Regions from separate parts of the Homo sapiens genome. Here regions 1, 2, 3, 5, 6 and 7 are each linked to region 4. The links are contacts of gene promoters, found by promoter capture Hi-C in blood cells and fetal thymus (Javierre and others, 2016). All regions are on one chromosome and are shown on one strand. Each heading gives the region's core, a stretch centred on a gene start or on the middle of the fragment in contact. The rest is flanking DNA. Distances are from core to core; before and after follow the strand shown.

Region 1 (3,163 bases), core at 546-3,045, 710 kb after region 4:
TCTGCTTTTCTTTACGTACAGCTGTCCTGGTAAATTCTTACCCTGGCGCCACCAGCCCCAGAGAGTTGCTGCTCACCCACGACAGTCCATGAAGTGCTTACTATGTTGTGCTTTAAATTATTTGCTGATGATTGTTTCTCATACTAGATAATACTCATATCTTGGCAATGGTCCCTAAAAAATATAAACTAGGCCAGGCACAGTGGTTCACGCCTGTAATCCCAGCACTTTAGGAGGCCAGGGCATGTGGATCACCTGAGGTCACCAGTTCAAGACCAGCCTGGCCAACATGGTGCAACCCGGTCTCTACTAAAAATACAAAAATTAGCTGAGCGTGGTGGCGAACACCTGTAACCCCAGCTACTTGGGAGGCTGAAGCAGAAGAATCGCTTGAACCCGGGAGGCAGAGGTTGCAGTGATCCGAGATCATGCCATGGCACTACAGCCTGGGCGACACAGTGAGACTTTGTCTCAAAAAAAAAAAAAAAAAAATATATATATATATATATATATATATATATATATATATATGGCACTCTTCCAATTTAAACGGTTGCAATGTTTGTCCACTCGGCCATATATATTATATTTATACTACATATATATTATATAATATATACACTAAGCTAGGGAGTAGGGGCCGAAGGGACGGAATTATCACTGGGGCAGAGGAAACACCAAAAGAAGGCCACTTTGGCTCCAACGCCTACTCTGCCACCAATCACAGGGCTGATCTTAGGCTGAACACTTAACCTTTCTAGGCTTCAGGTTAACTTAAATAAAAACTATACTACTACTTTCTAGACAAGATCTTCACATGGACCAAATGAAGAAGAGAAAAAATTAAAGACAAAAACCAAACATCATTTGGAAAAAATCTCAAAGGAGCAAAAAAAACATATATCCAAAGTAGTCTTCCTACAACCAATTTCCTTCTCTAATACATTCCTTCTACGACAAACAACTATAAAACACAAACGTTCTAACAGTGCCTAACCAGGCAATCTCATACCTTGTGATGTTTCCCGCATTCACTGTGGGTCGTAACACTTAAACTGATAATCCAAGGCTTTAGAAACGCCTTCCCCGAATCCCCTAGATTGGGCCAAGACTCCTTAGGTGTTCTCTCTGCCATTTATGGTGCAACGTGGCACTCTTCCAATTTAAATGGTTGCAATGTTTGTCCACCTGGCCAAAAAGCAAGCTGCCTGAGAGGAGGAAGCATGTTCCCCTAAATCATCATTGTATTCCCCAGACCCAGCACGGTGCTACCTGGCACCCTGTTAGCTATAACGGAGTCGCTGCGCAATAACTGAATGAAAGGTGCGATTACGGGAAAAAAAAAAAAGCCAGTTACTGAATACATTCCAGGTTGGTCTAAGAGCCCTGTGAGGACCCTCCTCCAACTGGTTTTGTTTCCTCATAATGGGATGATGACAATTTCCCAGGAGGTGAAGTTCAGGCCAAGCCCAACCTGAGCTGGTTAACCCCTCCCTCCAGGAGGTAGGATGGCAGGGGCCGAGGCCCAGAGGCGCCAGCCGGCTAGCGGCGCAGACACGTGGGGAGCTGGGTAGCAGCATCCTCACTCCGCCCGTATCTGGTGGCCGGCCCGGGTCCTGCCAGGGCTCGGCAGGCCCCGCTCCCGTCCACCTCTTCCCCTCCGCGCCGCCTCTCCTTCTCACCTGTCGCTCGCCCTGAGCACTGTATTTATTCCCCTTACTCAGTCCCAGGGACTTCTCCAGTAGCGACAACTCTGCGGCCGCCGCCATCTTCCGGCCGTAGCTCCTGGCAGACGCGAGACCTGCAGAACAAGAACCTCCCGCATTGGTGGAAACAGAAGTCCCACTCCTGCAAACTTCAGCGGCGATTGGCTGAACGGAAGGGGCGTGGAGAGCGCGCGCCAAAGCACAGGAGGCGGGGCCGGTGGAAGGGGCGGGGCTGAGGGCGGGGTGTGAGACAGGTGGAGAAGTGATGGTAAATTTCCACTCGAACTGTTGGGGAGCTAGTTACTGGTAGAAAGGCCCCAAGGCCGGGCTTCGGTGGCTGCAGTAGACTGGATCTGGATCTCTAAATGGCAATCTATTGACATGGCTGCCAGCGGTAACTCGTTAACTCATTTGCTAGTCTAAGAGAATTTATATATGATGGGAACTGAAATTTGCCTTAGTTTGGTTCAGGAATCTGTAAATTTGAACAATCAAATTGAATAGCAAAAAGTTCACAGTCCATTAGGAGTTTCTAACGTGTAGCATAATTCATGAGGATTTTAATTGTGTTGTAGTGGTGAATTCGAAAAACTGGTTTTTCTACTGTTGATCTACAGCTCAACACTAGCAGTAGAATTATACATTTAAAGATTATTCACAGAACACGGAGTATGTCAGATAGGGGTCAAATAATTACAGCTCAAGGAAATAAGCCATTAATGGCATTAATGATCTTTTTTTGCAGTACCAGAAGGCTGGTTACATAATTTATGAAGTTTTGGTATATAAATAAACAAGGTGCATAACTTTGCCCCACTAACTTGCTACATTCTTGTATCTTCAAAAAAGAAAGAAAGGAAGAAAGAAAGAAAATTAGTAGTATATGTTGAATATTTCCAAAAGATTTGTGAAAATACAAAATATTTTCCACTTTGAAGAATGAATAAACAAAGTGTGTATTAGTCTGAGAGAAATAGAACAATCCTACAAGGTAACTCATCATTGAATCAGAAATATCAAAGTTTAGTGGGGAATGTTGTTACTGTGTTACACCTTCCCTATCCCAGAATACTTAATGAGTTTACTCTGTCAGCAGAAGTAAACATAAGGAAAAGAAACTTTTGCCAAATCAACATAACAAAATACAAAAGAAATTTCAGTATAAGTGGATTGTTAGGCACTAAATTATCTGTTTTACTTTCCATATTCAGATAATGGAATGACTATTCTACTACTTTTTAAAAGACCAACCCTCTAAGATAATTCACATATCCATTTTCAGGGTTTAGGTACACTTTTTGCTTGTAATAAAACATTTTTTAAAAAAATTAACATTTATCCAATGCCAATGGGTGGTATATTGAAAATAAGGTTTGGCCTTTGCATAATTATAGAAATATCAAATTAAAAAAGAAATCCCTAAAAAACTGAAAGCAGAACAAAGCATATTGTACATC
Region 2 (2,956 bases), core at 378-2,877, 760 kb before region 4:
GGGCTTGCAGGTCCTTCTTAGCAGAGCGGTGAGAAAACTTAATGTCCACTGTGGGTGGCACATTGTGGTGTCACTGGCAGTTGAGCTGTTTGGTATCATTGCCATGGCATTACTATGCATTCCTCTGCAAACTGCATCTCGCTGGCTTTTCTCCAAGCCAAATAAAACACAAAATGGGTCAGGCTTAGTGAGACTGAAATGTTGCCTCCTTTCCCTCTGCCTTGTCCTCAGCTAGCTTTAAGGCAAGCATCACATTGGATTCAAAGACCAGCTGATGCTCTTTCAGTATGATTACTTATGCTGTGATTGACAATGTGGAGGAAATAGCGTATATGGCCAACGATAGGGCATTGACTAAGTAGGTCATTATTCAGCCAAACAAAGGTACAGTATGCTGTGATTTTAAAATGATGCCGTAGATTACTAAATTACATGAAAATATACTTGTAAGAATATTATGTGACAAAGAAGCATGCTATAAAAGTGTAGTCACTGTTGAATCCTATTGTATAAAATGTGTGTAAGTGTATACACAAAAAAACTCTGAAAGAGTACACACTTTAGTGCTAAGAGTACTTATCTCTGCAGATCTTTATTTTTGTCTTTTTTGGAAATCTCGCTTGCTTTTATGATAAATTTGCAAGGTTACTCTTTTAAGTGTTACTTTATCATTACAGGAAAGAATAGAGAGAATAAATTCTCTTCCCCTGGGAATAAATTTAAGAGTTTTCAAAGAGAATTACAGCCTATGTAATATCCAGCGATATTTGGACTCGAATAGAAAGTTCTGAATCAAAGAGTTGCGTAGAATATCAAGGGATGATCTAACAGCCATCCTCTTGCCTGGGATACCCACAGCCCCATTTACTCAGGCTGTGGGCTCACTGAGAAGGAGACAACATTGGCCACTGTTTTACTTTCTTCTCTGTTAAAGCTGCCTTGGTCCTTCTGTCTCCTCTGATAGTATCGAGTCATTCAGATGTATTTGCTTTAGTTGATTGCCATGCTTTCAAACAGGTTCCATAAGCTACACATCCACTTTTAAGACTAAATTGAGCTTCATTGAATGTCCTTAATGACCACAACTAATTCCTAGCCCAAAGGAGGGAAGCTGCAGCCAACTCCCTCAATCCTCAAGAACAACAATGCCGATAGAACCCCTGTGTGATCCGGGAGCTTTGGTCTGGTCTGCAAACACCAAGCGCGCCGTTACCCCAGTGGGTCTCCATCTTGGTCGCACATTAACTGCTCCTGTGCTTTCTGAAGCAATGACCACAAGCCACAGGTCGCGACTGAGCCCTGAAATGTAGCCAGTCTGAATAGAGATGTGCTGTAAGTGTAAAGTACAGACTCAGTTTCAAAGCTTTAGTCTTAGAAAAAGAATGTAAAATATCTCTATCATTGTTCCACTGGTTATGTGTTGAAATGTTAATATTTGGAATATACTGAGTTAAGTAGAATTTATCATTAATATATTATTTTAATCATTTATCAATGATAAGATATTAATATTATATTAAAATTAATTTCAACTTTTAAAATGTGGCTCCTAGAAAACATAAAATTATATGTGTGACTCTCTTTAATGTTTTTACTGGCAGCGCTGCATTATTATCTCCCTTTATAATTTTGAAGCTCCCAACATCCAGGCCATACCCCAGACCAATGATATCAGAATCTCTAGGAGTGAGAGCCAAGCCAGGTGGTGACCAGAAGTGCTCTGTGTTGAGAATATGGGAGGAAAAAACTGTTTTTTCCTACATACACCCTCATCTTATCAGATGAGGAAATTGAGTCTAACTTACCCAAGGTCACAAAGCCAGCGGGGGGTGGAACTGGGTTTCTGTCCAGCTCCAAACCCCTCTGCTGTATATCTTCTGTAAACATAAAGAAAGCTTTGCTAGAGAAGAAGTAAACTCATTTCAGCCCTCCACTAAGACCGGAAAAAGATTTAAAGGGCATAACAAAATTATAGAAATCAAAGGATCATCTTTGGGCATAACCAGCCATTATTATAAGGCAGTGGTTCTCAAAGTGTGGTCCTCAGACCAGCAACATCAGCATCATCTAGGAAATTATTAGAAATGGCAGATTCTTGGTCCCTACCCAGACGTACTGAATCAGAAGCTCTGGGGTTGGGGCTTAGTGATCTGTATTTTAACAAGCCTTTTGGGCCATGTGTTGGCAAACTTTCTTCTGGAAAGGGAAGGATAGTAAACATTTTAGGTTTTGCAGACCATATGGTCTCTGTGGCAATTGCTCAACCCTTCCCTTGCAGAGATAATATGAAAATGAGTGGACATGGCTGTGTGCCCAGATTACATGAAGTGAGGTATGTCTATATCTGCTGCATGTATTTTATAATTGATTTGGCTTTGTTTAATTTATGGACACTGAAATTTAAATTTCATTTAATTCTTACATGTGGTGAAGTATTATTCTTCTTTTGACTGATCAGTCCTGCTCTAAGTGGTTCTGTGGCATGTTAACTTTTGTGAACCACTGCTAGAAGGTAAGTCAGAATCCAGGGCTCTTAGCCAGAGTTACTGAGCACAGGTATGCGGGGGCTGTCACCAGGTGGACACTTGACCTGAGCTGCAGCATAAATTCAGATCCAGGACACCAAGGACAATGCCACACCTGTGCTTTGACTCTGCTTTATAAGACCTGTGCCAAAAAATTAGATTTGGGGCAAAAGGGACTTAACAGATAGGCTGGTCAGAGTGGCAGCTGGCAGGAGGAAGAGCACCTTAGGAAAAAGCCAGAGAGCAGGCCTGGAGGTCTCCTTCCCTCCCCACAGCTGCCATGGACAGTCTGGAGGGCCATTACATTTCTCTATTTCTCAATTACTGCATCTATCAAATGAGAGTGGCCATAATTCATTATTGGGTAAGAGTGGAGACTAAATAAGATATGTGATGTGTCTGACGCGTTAGAAATCACAGCACTGAGTCCC
Region 3 (3,111 bases), core at 253-2,752, 810 kb before region 4:
CCATGCTAGGCAGAGGCAGGGTCACAGGGCTATAGGAGCCGAGTTCAGTGGGAGCTCCCCAGCCCTGACAGAACATCTTTCTTCAGGAAGCAAGCACTGAGTTGAACTCTCAAGGAAGTGCAGGCAATATGGTAAAAAAGGGGTAAGGAAGGGCAGTCCAGGATAGGCACTAGAGATGCCAGGGCAGGGGAGAGCAGGCAGCAAGGCTGGAGTGCCCACAGCCAGGGAGGCTGGATGGGAAGAGACCAAAGCATGCGAGGCCTCAAAGGTACGTGCAGGGGGCACTGAGAGGCTTTGGCAGGGCATCCCTTGGCAGATGCGCCTTCAGACAGGATAGCTCTGGGTGTAGACTGGATAATGGATTTGGAAGGGGGCCATGGTGGATCCCAGGAGGCCATGAGAAGTCCCATCTAGGGCAGTGACACACACGTGGAATGAAATGATGTATTAGTCTGTTTTCATACTGCAATAAAGACGTACCTGAGACTGGATAATTTATACAGGAAAAACGTTTAATGGATTTACAGTTACACATGGCTGGGGAGGCCTCACAATCATGGCAGAAGGCAAGGAGGAGCAAGTCATGTCTTACATGGATGGCAGCAGGCAAAGAGAGAGCTTGTGCACAGAAACTCCCCCTTATAAAACTGTATCTAGTAAAACTTATTCACTATCATGAGAACAACATGGGAAAGACCTGCCCCCATGATTCAATTACCTCCCACAACATGTGAAAATTTAAGATGAGATTTGAGTGGGGACACAGTCAAACCATATCAAGTGGAAATACTATTTCAGTGACTTTGATGGGGAGTTTCCAATCTTACACTTCCAAATGGTAACAAAGATTGAGTGCAGTGACTCACACCTGTAGTTCCAGCTACTTGGGAGGTTAAGCCGGGGCAGGGGGGAGGATTGCTTAAAGCCAAGAGTTTGAGACCAACCTGGGCAAGACAGCAAGACATTGTCTCTAGAAAATAAAACATTAGCCAGGTATGGTGGTGCATGCCTTTAGTGCCATACTCGGGAGGCTGAGGCGGGAGGATCAGTTGAGCCCAGGAATTCAAGGCTGCAATGAACTATGATCACACCACTGCACTTTAGCCTGGGCAACAGAGCAAGACTATCTCTAAAACAAACAAATAACAACAACAAAAACAGTAACAAAAGAAAGCCCAGCTTTTTGGGCAAGAAGTGACAGCTCAGGACCAGGGACATTATAATACAAATTCCGGGTGAGCAGAGGCCACAGCCAATGAAGCACCATTTTGTCTGAAAAGTACAAAATGCTTCCCCTTCCACCCTTTGAACACCTGCTTTGTTCATCAATAACCTTACAATTGCAGCCCACATATCCAAGCTTCAAAGTAAAAGCAGAGAGCTCAATTTGTGTCTATGAAGCAGCGTGCCGTGATGTCATCTGACCCTTTGTTTTCATCTGTGTGCAGTGGAGACAGGAAAGGCACCACTCATCAGACTCCTGCAGGAGCCATCTGCCAAGCCTCTCTCTTCTGAACTGAGTCCTGTTTTCCGTGGCTATTTTACATTTCTAATGAGAAGCTATTATGTATCACATAGGTTCATCCATGTAGTCCCTCACTATGGAGGACCTGGCCCCAGCTGAGTCTGCACACTAGATGACAAAGAAGCTTTCAGCTTTAAGGCACCTCCAGATATCTAGTTTCCTCTAACAATAAAAATAGTAATAAAAGTTACCATTTATTATGATTGATTTTTTATAGGTAAATTAACCTACATTAAGGGAATGTAACTTATGTGACCTACTGATACCACAGAGTAGAGACAAGATGCAGCCCAGGCCTACAAGACCACAAAGGCCATTCCCTTTGAGCCCTCTCCCCTCAGCCTTTCCCCTCTCCCTCCATCTGAGGGAGACAGAAGCTTGGGTGAGACCTGCTTCTTGAAGCTACATGGTCCAAGTCCCCTCAGTTTCCAAGCACTTGGGGATCACTTGTGGGCTATCACTACAGTGGAAGATAAGCAAACCACTGGGCGTAGTAGGAAAGAGGCCGTTTTCTCAGAGGTCAAGAACTGAAGAAGGGAGTTTCACTGTCTGACCTCCAATGGCCCTACTGTGTGTATGATCTTGGATGCGTCACTCACTATGCCTCAGTTTCCTCATCAGGAGAACAAGAATCATACAACAGGCCCAGAATCCTTTCCCTGAAATCCTTCGGTACAGATGTGTTTTATAAATCAGAATTTCTTGATTTTAGAAAGGTAATAGAGTTCACATTTTATAACACTCCTAACGGAGTCTGGTACAGTACCCATTAACCACAAATCAATCACATTAATAGTATGCAGCAAAACATAGTGAAATACACCCAGTTGAGATAAATTAAAACTATAAACAGTCTCATCAGTTTAGATGAGATTTTTCCACCAAAAGAACTACCTTTAAAAAAAAGAATTTCCTCCTCTGTAGACTTGGAAGACTTTGGAATTTATTTCAGAGTTGCAGAGCCAGGGGTTGGGCAGGGAGGTGGGGTAAAGAGTGGATGACAGAGCTGTGTTTACCTTGTAAGGCTGCTGTGAGGATGAAATGGATCAAAGAATACATGGAATGCACTTAGAAGAATGCCTGAGACATAACAGAAGTGCATTTCGGATATTCTTATTCAATCCAAAAAAGAAAAAACACAGGCTACTTCAAAGGCCATTATTTGTATGTCAAAATTACTGCTAGGATGTTTACTACTACAGGGAATTAGAAGACATCTTCAGAAGAATTCTGAACAAGACCTCATCAGACCTCTTCAGAAGAATTCTGGGTGGATCTGCCGGCCACTGCCAGGAGAGGGAACTCAACAACATCCCTAAGAGTCTGATCCAGAGAATAGGTAAATTATTTTATTCCAAATACCACCTGCCAGTCCAGCAAAATGGGATCTCCAATACTTTGGATTATATGTGCCAAGTGCAAATCCCATAATGGCAGCCAGAAATTCTGGAATTAGCCAGAACTGGAGGGACACACTGAAGCCAGAGCCTGGGATCCTATCTACAACAGTGAATGAGGACCCCTTCTTCATAGCACGTAAAAGAACTCTTTGCATTCTTCATCCCATTTCTGGTTCCCTCCCCAGT
Region 4 (2,992 bases), core at 147-2,646:
CTTCCCATCTACCCATTCATCTATTTTCAAAATTCCTACAATGTCTTCAGTCTCTAAATCTCTATCTTACAATTCAGCACTTGGTGATTTCGTTTACTGTTTTAGAGCTTCACCACTGTTTCAAGGGTGTTAGTGTTTGTGTTTACAGATCATAAATGTCTTGAGAGGAGCATACTTAGGGCTTTCCAATATCCCCTACTGCAAATGGACCAGTGCTGTCTACACAGCAAATATTGATTGAATAAAACCTGCATTCCAATGACTTATTTCTATCAAGCTCTTTCAATTTATAGTCATTACTCATCTGCCTGGATTCTTTTATTGAATTTCTGAATGAATAGTTTATTGAAAATTAGTTGTTTTCAAACCTATGTCATCACTTGGTAAAATATAAAAAAGTAAGCCAAGCAGACCAGTCAGGATCAGTGAAAGGCCCAACTTTATGCTCACTTCTCCCTTGTCTTTCAAATAATGCTGCCTGGATTGTGGTGAGATCTGAAAAATTCTTGCTTTGTTTTCCCAATGCAAAAAAGCGCAAAGGCCTTGTTTCTTAGTTTTCTTGTTTGTGAACCCAGCACTTCCAATTACATTTCTACAACTTTGTTCATCCCTCATGTGGCACTGCACAATCTGCCAGTTTACCTTTTTAATTTAAAGTTAGACTATTTTTTCCATCTTTCATTTGTCCTTACAGGTTTATGTTGGATTTTTAACATATTTATCAAATGTTTGAATAGATGTTCCAGAGACATTCTAAAGCTGTTTTAAGATAGGAGTTAAAAGAGGTGTCACGGGAGTTACTCGCAAAAACTATAGTTTTGTTTAAAAGCTTTTTCAGTTGTAAGACAAACTTTACCTTTTTAAAAAGCACTTATCTCATTCATTTTTCACCTCAAAACGAGACACCAAACTTTTTAAGACACAAAAGTGTGCTCACTTCCAGGATCCATAGTTTCTTGGACCCACGCTACGGACCTGGCTCTCCCTCCCTCTGCACCGGGTTTTGTGGGAGGGAGAACGCTTTCCAACCTCCTCCACCAAGGACTCTCACAAACTCGCAATCGGGCTCCCGGAGTGCTGGAACGCCCCTGTGTGACGTCCGCCCGCGCCGGGGGAACTCCGCAGAGACAGGTGCAGCCCGCGAGGCCCGAGCGACCCTACTGTGGGTGCGGTGTCTTCCCAGAGAGTGGTGAAGTTAGGAAGGTACGACCCCCTAGGCCGAACAGCCTGTGGGCTAGCTGGCGCCTCCTGCCGCAGTAAACACAAAGTGGGGTACAGAAACGAAAACTCCGGGAAGAAACGGCCAGCACGGGCCTCGCCGTGCCGGCTACTCAACACGCCTTCCTGAGAGCACAGAACATCCACAGCCCTATACAGCGCGCCATCCAGAGAGCTCCGGACTCCCAGCTCGGCGCAGGGGCGGGACTTCCGCTCAAGTCAGACTTCCGGGCGAGGCGGTGAGGGGCTTCCGGTTGGGGTGGCAGGGTGGTGGATCTGTCGGTCCCGTTTTCCCGTCGCACGTGGTGGCCACTGTTGGCTTCTGAATGGTTTGCAAGGCGGATATCCACGCCAAGGCCTTTGGATCGGCCGTGGGTACATCCGTCTGAGCCGTTCCTTTCCATCGCAGAGCGGCGGCCTCCGGCGGCGCTCTCCAGTCATGGACTACCGGCGGCTTCTCATGAGCCGGGTGGTCCCCGGGCAATTCGACGACGCGGACTCCTCTGACAGGTAGGCGGCCGTACAGTGCCCTGGCTCTGGGTACGGCTCTCTCCTTGACCGCCCCCTTGGGGTGTGGACTCTTGTTTGCGGTTTAGAGGGAGACTAGTGGTTCATCACTCAGCGTCTCTCTTGACAACCCTTTGCCTGTTTCTGCATCCCAGCTGGGTTTTTCTCCCAGTTCACGCGGCAGAGTTAAGTGAAAGCTACTTGTCAAGGGAGTCTGCGGTTCTCAGGTCGGTTAGCGTCACTGGGAGGCAGAGTTGGGGATAGCGATTAGGAAACATGGGTTTTTGCGTTTTAACCACATTTAGCGTTCAACAAATACTTACTAAGCACTTAATATGTACCACGTTCTGTCCTGGGCGCCGGAGGTAACAAGAAGAACCAACTTCCTGCTGTCATGGAACTTTACCTTCTACGTGAAAGAGAGGGCACACCATTTAAAAACCAAATAATGATGTAGACTATGCAAATCGTTTGATATACCAAGTGGTGACTGAATGGGTAGGGAAAGGTTAAGTCCAGATTTGAATGACAAGGAGCTAATCCTGGCAAGAGCAGAGGGAACAGCATTTCACACAGAAGGGACAGCAAGAGCAAAGGCCCCGAGGCCAGAGTGCCTAGAGCACAGTGGAGGTAGTTGAGAAGATTGGTAGGGTGATAGAGAAGTAAGAAGGGGGGCCAGATCATGGAGACCTTTACAAGTGATGGTGAAAAGTTCAGATATTAATGTGGGTCTTATGGAAAGCCATAGGAGGGATTTTAGCAGAAGAATGACATTATTTGCTTGGTGATTTAAAGGAATCATTCTTTCTAGGTAGATGATGTTCATGGAGGGTGGGAGTGGAACAGAGAGACCAGTTCAAAAATAATAAGGTAATCAGATTCAAAGATGGTGGGGACTAGAGCCCAGATCCTAAAGATATGTCTTGGAGGTAGAAGTGGCAGCGTTTGGTGGTAGACTGGACGTGGAGTCTGGGGAAAGAGGGATGAAGGATAACTCCTGCCTAAAAGCAAAATGAAACATATTGGAGTTATTTTGGAATTCCAAGAAAACAGCTTGTACTTTATGTTTACAGTAAGGATTCATCACATGCGGATTTTGTTAATTATTGGGGATGTTTTCAATAAATATATGTATGTTGAATGCTTTCTGTGAGTCAGATCTAGTCTTAGGTGGTAGGGAGGCATTGGTAAATACCATCCTGAATGACACAGAGCTTGCACCCTAGCAGGGGAAACCGATATTATTAAATAATTAGACTATTTGTAT
Region 5 (2,894 bases), core at 120-2,619, 740 kb before region 4:
TCATGGAATCACACCCAAGGCACCATCCAGAGCACAGCCTGGTTCTCTTGAATACAATTTCAGTGTTGGGGACTCCACTCTCTTTGGAAGCTCTGCTCATTGCTAGAAAGTTGCTCCCTTCTAACAAAAGCCACCTTTCATGCAGCTTCTCTCCGGTGGTCTCACCTACTCCTTCCCTCTTGCTTTATACAGATTAAACTCTTTCCTCCTTTGGGTGACAGGCAGTTCAAAGATGTGCCAGCAGTCTCCTGGCCTCCTCTGCCACAGTCCCTCTGCTCCGCTTGCGACCCTCCAACCACCCCAGAGCATTTTCCTCTCCAGATTCGTGTCTACAAACACATCACCGCTCCGTGGCTGCTGGGGTGCAGGACTGGGGTGCTGGCAGCAAACAAAACCAGAATGGCTCTTCTACAGTCCTCATAGGACCTGGCTGCCAGGTGGCTTCTGCCAAGCTGACTGCAAAGGAAGGGAGACCTCCTTACAGTGTTGCTGCCAGCAAGGATCCCCAAAGGCAGCCATTCTTTCTGTGATGGTGCATTTTGGTTTTGTGCTGGTGAACTGTGCTCCCCGGGGTCTTCTCTGTCTGAGCATACAAACCTTTCTCCTTCCAGTTGCTCAGGCCAGGAGCCTTGGAGTCACCTTTAACCCATTTCTTTCTCTCCCACCCACTTGCGTTTCCTCAGCGGATCCTATTGGCTGTTCTTTCAAAATCTCTCTGGCACCCAAAGCCTTCCCCCACCTCCACCTCTACTCCAAGTCATCTTCATCTCTCACCTGGATTCCTGCAATCGCCTCCCATCTGGGCTTTTCAGTGAGGCAGCCAGAGGGATCTTACCGACACAGGCGCCAGGGCAGGCCACCCTCTCCTGACCAGAGTCCCTTTCAGAGTGGAAGCTGATGTCCCCACCATGGCCTTTGAGGCCCTAAGAGTCTGGCCTCCTGTGTTGCCCTTACCTCACCCCCCCCATCCCCCCACTCCCTGCAGCCCCACTGGCCTCCTTCTGCCCCTCTAAGGTGGGGGCCCCAGCCCATAGCAGCACTGCACCTTCTTGCATCTGCTTCAGGTCTTTGCCTAAATGTCGTCGTCTCAGCAGGGCCTCCTTTCACCACCCTGCTCAAAATTGCAGACCAGCACTTGCCTTGACCCATCCAGTGCTTCCATCCACTCCCTTCCTGCATGAGTTTTCTCCATGACATGAGCACCTGACACACCATACATAGTCACATATCATAAGGGTGGTCTGTCTCTCCCAGAGATGCTGTCAGCTCCACAGGGCAGGGGTTGGCTTGTCTTGTTCTACGTTATCCACAATGTCCAGAACAGCACCCAGCACATAAAAGTTTCTCTGTAAATATTTGTTAAATGGTTAATTGTACTGTGGGTCACACGTCTAATACTTGACCTGTGCCCCTTGCAGGGAGAATACCAGGTTTTGCTGGAACTGTACACTGAAAAACGGTCCACCGTGGCCTGTGCCAATGCTACTATCATGTGCTCCTGACTGTGGCCTGTAGCAAAAATCACAGCCAGCTGCATCTCGTGGGACCTCCAAGCTCCTCTGACTGAACCTACTGTGGGAGGAGAAGCAGCTGATGACAGAGAGAGGCTCTACAAAGAAGCGCCCCCAAAGAGTGCAGCTGCTAATTTTAGTCCCAGGACCAGACATCCCCAGACTCCACAGATGTAATGAAGTCCCCGAATGTATCTGTTTCTAAGGAGCCTCTTGGCAGTCCTTAAGCAGTCTTGAGGGTCCATCCTTTTTCTCTAATTGGTCGCCTCCCACCAGACTCACCTGCTTTTCAACTTTTTAGGAGTGCTTCCTCACAGTTACCAAGAATAAAGAAAGCTGGCCACCATTGTTCATTGTGGTTTGTTCAAAGAATCTTACTACAATGCTGTAGTTAAAAAGTCATTTCCTCCAGATACAGTGCCGGATGCTGGTGCAGCATAAGCAGTTCCAAGAAATTCAGGAGGGTGACAGCCTGGCTAAAATTAGAACACTGGGAAAATGTGCCATTGCTTCTCCTGGGCAGGCCCCCACCCTTGGACCATGAGGGCCGAGAAGCTGATGCAACCTCACGAATAGGGACATCATACTCTCGCTTATCCAAACATTCATTTCACCTTCATCCCTCAAAGCATGATTACACTTGACCTCAGCATATGCTGGCGTTCATTACTGCATTCATTAATGAATGCAAGGAATAACTCCTGAACACTTAATGTGTATCAGGTGCTGTGTTCTTAAGTTGTCTTCTACGATGCTCTCCGTAAATGAGCATGTTGCCCATGCTACTTCCAGAGCCATTTCTGCGGCCCCGTCTTCTCTCCTGGGATGCACTGATCGCATGGTGGGCTGCATAGCCCCTTCACCATCCGACGCCCCTGTCCTTCCAGTGTCCCTGCTGGCCCTCTTGCTCCTGCTAAGGGGCTGGAGTAAGGTGGGTGAGTTGACACTATCATTCATAAAAATGCCACTATATTAGAGATTAAAAGAGAAAAAAATTCCATAGTTTAAAAAACAGTAGTTGCTATTAATCACTGTTTATACATCAGTAAACCACCTAGAATAGCAGGTCAAAAATGCCTGTCAAACTTTAAAACCAGCATCTGAGGTTTTCTGGGTTATGAGCAGGCAAAATTGCAGCAGCGTCCTTGCCTAGGCCCATAATGCTCGAGGGAAAAGACGTGCGTGGTCATACTAGGCTCAGGAGCAAACCTCTGAACGTACATGGGGGTGACGGTGTTACGCACAAGAATAGCAAATGATTCCTGCCCCTGGCCATTCCCTCTAGCTTGAGACATTCACCTCTCTCCCTTTTCAGTAACCATCACCACAAGTAGTAAAGTCCCTGGCTAGACTCTGTGTACGCACATGTTCTAACAGTACAAG
Region 6 (3,108 bases), core at 219-2,718, 780 kb before region 4:
GTGAATATCCGTTATTTATGTCTCCTGTGTCAGAAAATGTTTACCGGCCCAGTCCTTTTTTTCTTTCTCCAGTTTTCAGCAGCTTAAGCCTGGGCAAAAGTATTTAGACTAATTGCTCTAGTTGTATCAGTTTTGTCCAGTAATGTTTCCATGCACACTAACAGTTTTTAAATGTTCTGAAGACACATGAACAGATGGCAAAAAAAGGCTGAACAATATCCAAACGGTTACAGCAATGGTGTTACAGAGAAGGGCATAGCGTTGAGCCAGGCCTTCTTTAAACTTTGCTGTGAAGCAGAAGAAACTCACACGTGGTGTTTAACTTGTGTGCAGGTCTGCGGGGGAAGGACGGCTGTGATTGTTCAACGGGTGAACTCTTCTCCTTTATTCATCCGAAATCCAATTTCCTGTCTTATTTTTCATGGCAGCTTGCTATCTTTCAATATAATTCTTTTTATATCTTTAGCAAAAGTATTTTTTATTCCCCTAATCAGGAAGGGAATGCTAGGGTGTGTTGATTCTGGAGGCAGAGAAATGAGTCCTTTCCTTGGTTAGGAATGTATTTTGCTGGCAGAGAGACCAAGCCAACCGCAGCTCTGCTTTTCCCCTCCAGCATCCACCTGTAAGAGCTTGTAATCTTTTATTGTTCATGGCCCCGGGATCCTATTCCCGGATGGTCTATGTGAAATGAAGAGAAAGTACAAGCAAGTTCAGATTTCCCATAGAAACACCTCCCTCCTTCCTGTCCAGGAGAGCTCTATTGCAGAGTTGGAGCATCCAGCAGACCCACCCTGGCTTCATCTCATTGACATAAGAGATGCAGAAAGAAATGGCGAATTGGCTTTGGGAATGAAGAATTTGACTTCCCTGGTTCCAGTTCAAGACATACGGGTGGGAACTCCCACTGGGTATCCACTCTGCTTTCTTGGGAAAGCTTCACGGTATCTTTAGGAAGGAAGCCTGGGATTCCACACCCTGGAGATACTGGATCTCTTATTCTCTATGCACTTCCTTACACACTTTCTCTTCCTTCAAGGGCCTCTCAGTTGAGGCACTACTCCACCTTAAATCCAGGTGGCCACATTCAGAAGCACTGTCACGCTGGCCTCTCAGCAACATGCTAACACAGAAAAGGAGGCTGTTTATGAGTCAGCTCTGCCAACAGGATTGCTTCCTAGGAAAAGTGCAAATTGATTTTTTTCCTCCTGTTGGTCTGCTGGGGGATTGGAGGCAGCCACGGACAATTCATTAGCACATGTAGGAAGGCCAGGGAGAAAAATAAGCTAAGTTGCTCTCATACTAGAAAGCATTTAGGAAGCAAACCCATAAACATGGATAATTATTGTGTGTCCATTAAAATTTAAAAAAAAAAAAAGAATTCGTGCTTGTTCTGTAGGCCTCTGTGTATGGCCAAGATTGGCTACAGGGCCCTGAACATTGCAAGAAACGTTTGCACTGGCAAGGAAGGGTGCTGGCCTCTATTTTTGTAGAAACAGGGTCTATGTTGCTCAGGCTGGTCGTGAACTCCTGGGCTCCAGCGATCCTCCTGCCCAGGCCTCCCAAAGTGTTGGAATTACACACATGAGCCACCACGCCCAGCCAGGATCTGTATGGTGGTGCTTATACGCAGTAACCCTGCATAGAACTACAAGAGCGAACACGTGCGTGCGTGTGAAAACCGCTAAAACCTGAGTACAGTCTGTAGAGTACACCAGTGTCAATGACTAGGTTTTGATACGTGGTTCTGTAAGATGTTACCATGAAGGGAAGTGGGTGAAAGTACACAGGGCACCTCTGTACTCTTTGTGTAGCTTCCTATGTCTATCATTATTTCAAGATAAAAAGATTTTATTTTAAAAAAATGGCCTGAAGCTCTTGAGCCTGAGGCTACGCATCTCCCTCTGCCTTTATGACCCACAGTGCAGGCCCTGAGCCCCCAGAGTCTGGGCTCCACTGCCCTGGCCTCTGGGGCATCTGAGAAGCCTGGTACAGGAAGGAAGCATGAAGCTTAAAATAGTGCTCAGTTCCTCCTTTTACAAGTGAAGAAACGGAAGCTTAGGGGGGGGCAAGGTGAGTGCTAGCTGATGCCCTGATTTACTGCCTGAGTTACATGGAAGCTTCTGTCCCTAGGAACATACCAAGACAGTCTGCCCTAAAATGGTCAAGCTAGAAGGCCAAAGCGAGGGAGGGCTGGGGTTTTGTTTTGTGGGGTGTGTGTGTGCATTCTCATGTGTGTATTTAAGGGCTGCAAAGGACATACTGGTTTTGATGTCACACTATGAGCACAAATGGTGTAGAAATTCTATTCCACAACATGAGCGATGTTCAGCAAAGTCAGTAAGAAGGTGAGCATGTCTGAGCTTACCTGCAAGATGAAGGCCTGTGATGACGGTGGAAACTCTTTCTGACCCCAGCAGCCACAGAAATTTGTATTTTGCCAAGGAAGGCTCCTTCTTTGAAAATATATAGGAAGAAGACAGAAGTCTACCTTTCTGATACCACTTTAAGCAATAGAGGAAAAGAAAATTATCTTGTTTTTCCACTGTCCTTCCAGGGGTGATTCTAGGACCGTTAAGATCTGGCCGTGTCTGAGCAAACACCAGCCACCTCCGACCTCCAGCCTTTCAAAGAAACAAGCTGGACTGTTTGCATTTATATGATTCAAAATGAAGGTCACAAAAGCACAACTGACTTGATTTTATGAAGAGCTTTTGTTGACAAACGTGAAGTTCCCAGAATACACAGTCTTTGGGACTTGAGTTTTTTTGTATATATTATTCTCTGTGCCTGAGTTGGTAGAAAAGAGCCTACATAACATAGGCTCCTACTCCAGCCCAGTACAAGGTTTTCAACCTGCACACTTTCCATAAACCCTCTCTGCCTCAGTTTTCCCAATTCTAAAACACGGATGATAGCATCTCTCTTAAGGCTTTTGTGAGGATTTCAGCTAATACATACGTAGGGCTCAGAACAGGACCTGCTGTGGAAAGAGCTATAGAAGTGATCACTGTTATTACACTCATCTGTAATTACTGCAAGTATTTGGAAATATATAGGAATATACTTAAGATGAATGGACACAAAACCGCCTCCACAGCTTCCAAGGCA
Region 7 (3,027 bases), core at 146-2,645, 680 kb before region 4:
AGCATCTTGAAGGAAGGGAACCGTTGTGGCTAGGTGATTGGGTGGAATGGCATTCCCTCTGGAATCTGATTGCAGAGCCTGATTTCCAGCTTGGTCCCCTGGTCTTCTTTAGCTTTTGACTTCCAAAGTCTTATTAGAACTAGCTAGGTGGCCCCTAGATTTATGTATCCACTTTTGTCAAAAGCAGGCTACGGAGATGGAGCCTAGTAAGGAAAATAAAGGTAAAGTATTATGGCATTCACTCATTAGGGACAAGATGTCCTCTGGTGTACGTCACAAAGCTTTCACCTGCAAGTGACACTCAGCTCAAACCACCTTTAAAAACAAGGATATTCTAATCTCAGATAAGAAGTCCAAGCAAGTTCCAAGGAGATTAAAACCAGTGGTTCAGTGTTGTTGTCAGGAACATAAATTCCTTCAAGCTCTGGGCTCTACCATCCTCAGAACATTGGTTTTGGCCTTAGGCAGCTCATCCCATGTTTCAAGATCCCTCAGCCCTCCTGGTTTCATAACCACATCGGCAGAGACCACTTCATGGTGACCAACCTGTCATGCTGCACAAGGCCTTGTGCTTAGAAGGACCCACACTTGGCTTAGTGCTCTACCATCACCGTCTTAACATCCTTAGTCTTATCTGTGAACTTGTGTTTTACGAGTGAAATCCTATGGGGACAGTGGAGATGCATGTGAGCAGAGGAGATGTACGCAGTATATATGTCCTCCTTTCCTGCTGTCCTATGTGCAGGTCATGTTGGGGATCCCCATAAGCACAGAATTCCAGGGACCCACGAAGCATGGGAGTCAGTGAGACAGACTCAAAGCCAGCACATTAAGCCCACAACCAAGTAAGTGGCAGCACTGACAGCCCTAAGAGGCCATGCTTTTTGTCCAAATCAGAACTTGCTCTGAACACAAAGAAAATAGAGCTCTAAGAAAACACAGAAGATCAAGCAACCCTACTCTATTCTTTTGAACACGTGTTACTTCCTCGTATTAGACAACTACTTCCACTGAAAATGATGACATAGGTTGGGTATGGTGGCTCATGCTTATAATCCCAGCACTTTGGGAGGCTAAGGTGGGCAGATCACCTAACGTCAGGAGTTCGAGACCAGCCTGGCCAACGCGGTGAAACCCCGTCTCTCCCAAAAAATACAAAAGTTAGCCGGGCGTGGTGGTGCACGCCTGTAATCCCAGCTACTCAGGAGCTGAGGCAGGAGAATCACTTGAACTCAGGAGGCGGAGGTCACAGTGAGCCAAGATTGCGCCACTGCACTCCAGTCTGGACAAGAGCAAAACTCCATAACAAAAAAAAAAAAAAAAAAAAAAAAAAGAAAATGACATAGAAGGAAAGACATAAGTGGTTGGCTAATACACCTTAGTGAACTATTTCAGAAGAAAATTCAGCACAATTCCAGCCTATAACTCCAAAAGCCTCAATTTCTTGCCTTGTTCCTGTCCCTTGATTTTTGTCCCCTCTTCTTTCATCGACAGAGCAGAAGGTCAACTGCCTCAGGTGTGTGCAGTCACTTACTGGCCCTGGAAATGTACATCCAGAACAGAATATTATCTTCCTGGCAGCCGTCCCATTCAGCCTGTGCATGGAGCTGTCCCAAGACCTGAGCCTTCTTAGTTTGGTGATGCTTCACTATGGCTTCAACTCTCCAACTTCTGCCCTCCAAGACCATAGTGATAAGAAAACAAAGATCAACTACCCCCGAGCTGGGAGGAGGACTCCTTTTTTCTCTGTACAGCCTTTTATATGTTTAACTTGCTTACCATGTAATATGGATAACCTATGAAAAAGATTTCACGTGTATACCTTTTTAAATCACTTACTCTACTTGTTTGTGAAGACAAAAATAAATTTAAAAAATGCCACAGACTTCTTGCAAGTTAAAGAAAAAAATTCAGCTTCCTGTGTAATAAGAAATATTGTAAGTCACACTCGTAGTCCGAGCTATTTGGGAAATTGTGGTGGGAGGAACACTTGAGCCCAGGAGTTCGAGACTGCAGTGAGCTATAATGGTGCCCACTGCACTCCCATCTGGGCAACAGAGCAAGGAATCATCTCTAAAAAATAATAAAAATAAAAATAATTTTAAAGATTAAAAAATATATTTAAAAGAAATATCACAAGTGAACTATAATTCATCCCAAAAGAGAATATGGATCTTTTCAAAGAGCAACATCAAAATGTCCAAGGCTAGTCATCATTTCTTTCTTGAGAACATTCATAAGCCACTGCTCACCCCTGGACTCCATTTTAAAAACAGATGCCACAGAGTTCTTCACTGCTTAGCCCATTCTCACATCACCAGTCCCCAAGCACGGACCTCACCCCTGGCCAGCCTTCCGGCATGCCAGGCCTCCTCCTCCCTCAAGCCCATGCGGAAGCAGGGAAGTGGGTCACACAGGGAGCCCATGCTATGGGTGGACGTACCCTGCCGACGAAAGTGGAAGGGCAGAGGTGGAGTGGTTTCTTCTTCCTTATTCCTTTATATTCTGTTAAGCTTTAGCAACTCTCTCAACTGACTCATGCATGGACTTGTTCTAGAAGAAACTGTTAGAGGCAGCAGAGGTCTGAAGGTGCTTTAGTTCCACCCCTAGATGAGAGTGACAGTCCCAGACACCCAGCAAGTTGGCATTAGAACCAGAGCTAGAACCCAGAGCTTGTCCCCAGCCAAGTTCTCTTTCATCTGCAATATCTGATTTCCCAGAATCATCCTTCATGGTGTGTTCTGGACCAATTTTTTGTCCAAAAACTAGACAAAAAGATAACTGTTTCATTTCTATTTCTACACTACAGCTCATACAATTTAAAGGAAGGACACTGCTGTAAGAACCATCCTCCATCACCAAAGAAAACTGGTTGAGTTCTTTTTATTTATTAAATAAGACTGGAAAGGGTCATTGTCTTGATCAGCGTTTCTATGCCTTGACACTGCTGACATTTTTGGTGGGATCATTCTTTGATGTGGGGACCATCCTATGCACTGCAAGATGTGTAGCAGCATCGCTGGCCTC

Evidence for each region. Contacts are between HindIII fragments. The CHiCAGO score rates a contact against its expected background, and 5 or more counts as called.
Region 1: the fragment with the promoter of EEF1E1 here is called in contact with the fragment with the promoter of CAGE1 in region 4 in 1 of 17 cell types (total CD8 T cells); the score reaches 5.6 in total CD8 T cells.
Region 2: a contact is called between a fragment that was not itself captured here and the fragment with the promoter of CAGE1 in region 4, in 1 of 17 cell types (monocytes). The highest score is 5.4, in monocytes.
Region 3: a fragment that was not itself captured here is called in contact with the fragment with the promoter of CAGE1 in region 4 in 3 of 17 cell types (fetal thymus, non-activated CD4 T cells and naive CD4 T cells); the score reaches 8.0 in fetal thymus.
Region 5: a fragment that was not itself captured here is called in contact with the fragment with the promoter of CAGE1 in region 4 in 6 of 17 cell types (erythroblasts, naive B cells, naive CD4 T cells and 3 more); the score reaches 9.6 in erythroblasts.
Region 6: a contact is called between a fragment that was not itself captured here and the fragment with the promoter of CAGE1 in region 4, in 8 of 17 cell types (naive CD4 T cells, activated CD4 T cells, total B cells and 5 more). The highest score is 10.9, in naive CD4 T cells.
Region 7: a fragment that was not itself captured here is called in contact with the fragment with the promoter of CAGE1 in region 4 in 3 of 17 cell types (fetal thymus, naive CD4 T cells and non-activated CD4 T cells); the score reaches 7.6 in fetal thymus.

What each region holds. Positions count from the first base shown.
Region 1 is chr6:8,100,753-8,103,915 of GRCh38, forward strand. EEF1E1 (eukaryotic translation elongation factor 1 epsilon 1) reads right to left here and starts at 1,796. Exons shown (of 4, transcript NM_004280.5): 1 at 1,683-1,796. The coding sequence starts at 1,769. EEF1E1-BLOC1S5 (EEF1E1-BLOC1S5 readthrough (NMD candidate)) reads right to left here and starts at 1,843. Exons shown (of 7, transcript NR_037618.1): 1 at 1,683-1,843. RefSeq lists silencers at 1,195-1,380, 1,589-1,708, 1,849-2,048. The HindIII fragment of the contact is 8,997 bases long and covers 1-3,163 here.
Region 2 is chr6:6,629,501-6,632,456 of GRCh38, forward strand. All of the region lies in intron 3 of LY86 (lymphocyte antigen 86), which reads left to right. Among named protein-coding and RNA genes, the nearest start is that of LY86-AS1, 8.2 kb to the left of the region's middle. The HindIII fragment of the contact is 532 bases long and covers 1,362-1,893 here.
Region 3 is chr6:6,579,806-6,582,916 of GRCh38, forward strand. All of the region lies in intron 1 of LY86-AS1 (LY86 antisense RNA 1), which reads right to left. Among named protein-coding and RNA genes, the nearest start is that of LY86, 7.4 kb to the right of the region's middle. The HindIII fragment of the contact is 289 bases long and covers 1,359-1,647 here.
Region 4 is chr6:7,388,346-7,391,337 of GRCh38, forward strand. It overlaps CAGE1 (cancer antigen 1), which reads right to left and starts at 1,397. Exons shown (of 14, transcript NM_001170692.2): 1 at 857-1,397. It overlaps RIOK1 (RIO kinase 1), which reads left to right and starts at 1,463. Exons shown (of 17, transcript NM_031480.3): 1 at 1,463-1,728. The coding sequence starts at 1,658. RefSeq lists enhancers at 1,076-1,135, 1,146-1,195, 1,326-1,745, 1,349-2,135. The HindIII fragment of the contact is 2,322 bases long and covers 828-2,992 here.
Region 5 is chr6:6,653,126-6,656,019 of GRCh38, forward strand. It overlaps LY86 (lymphocyte antigen 86), which reads left to right. Exons shown (of 5, transcript NM_004271.4): 5 at 1,419-1,857. The coding sequence ends at 1,502. Among named protein-coding and RNA genes, the nearest start is that of LY86-AS1, 32 kb to the left of the region's middle. RefSeq lists a silencer at 732-922. The HindIII fragment of the contact is 4,773 bases long and covers 1-2,894 here.
Region 6 is chr6:6,608,486-6,611,593 of GRCh38, forward strand. The region is part of intron 1 of LY86 (lymphocyte antigen 86); the gene reads left to right. All of the region lies in intron 1 of LY86-AS1 (LY86 antisense RNA 1), which reads right to left. Among named protein-coding and RNA genes, the nearest start is that of LY86-AS1, 13 kb to the right of the region's middle. The HindIII fragment of the contact is 1,073 bases long and covers 933-2,005 here.
Region 7 is chr6:6,704,876-6,707,902 of GRCh38, forward strand. The region is part of intron 4 of LOC101928004 (a long non-coding RNA gene); the gene reads right to left. Among named protein-coding and RNA genes, the nearest start is that of LY86-AS1, 84 kb to the left of the region's middle. The HindIII fragment of the contact is 2,232 bases long and covers 280-2,511 here.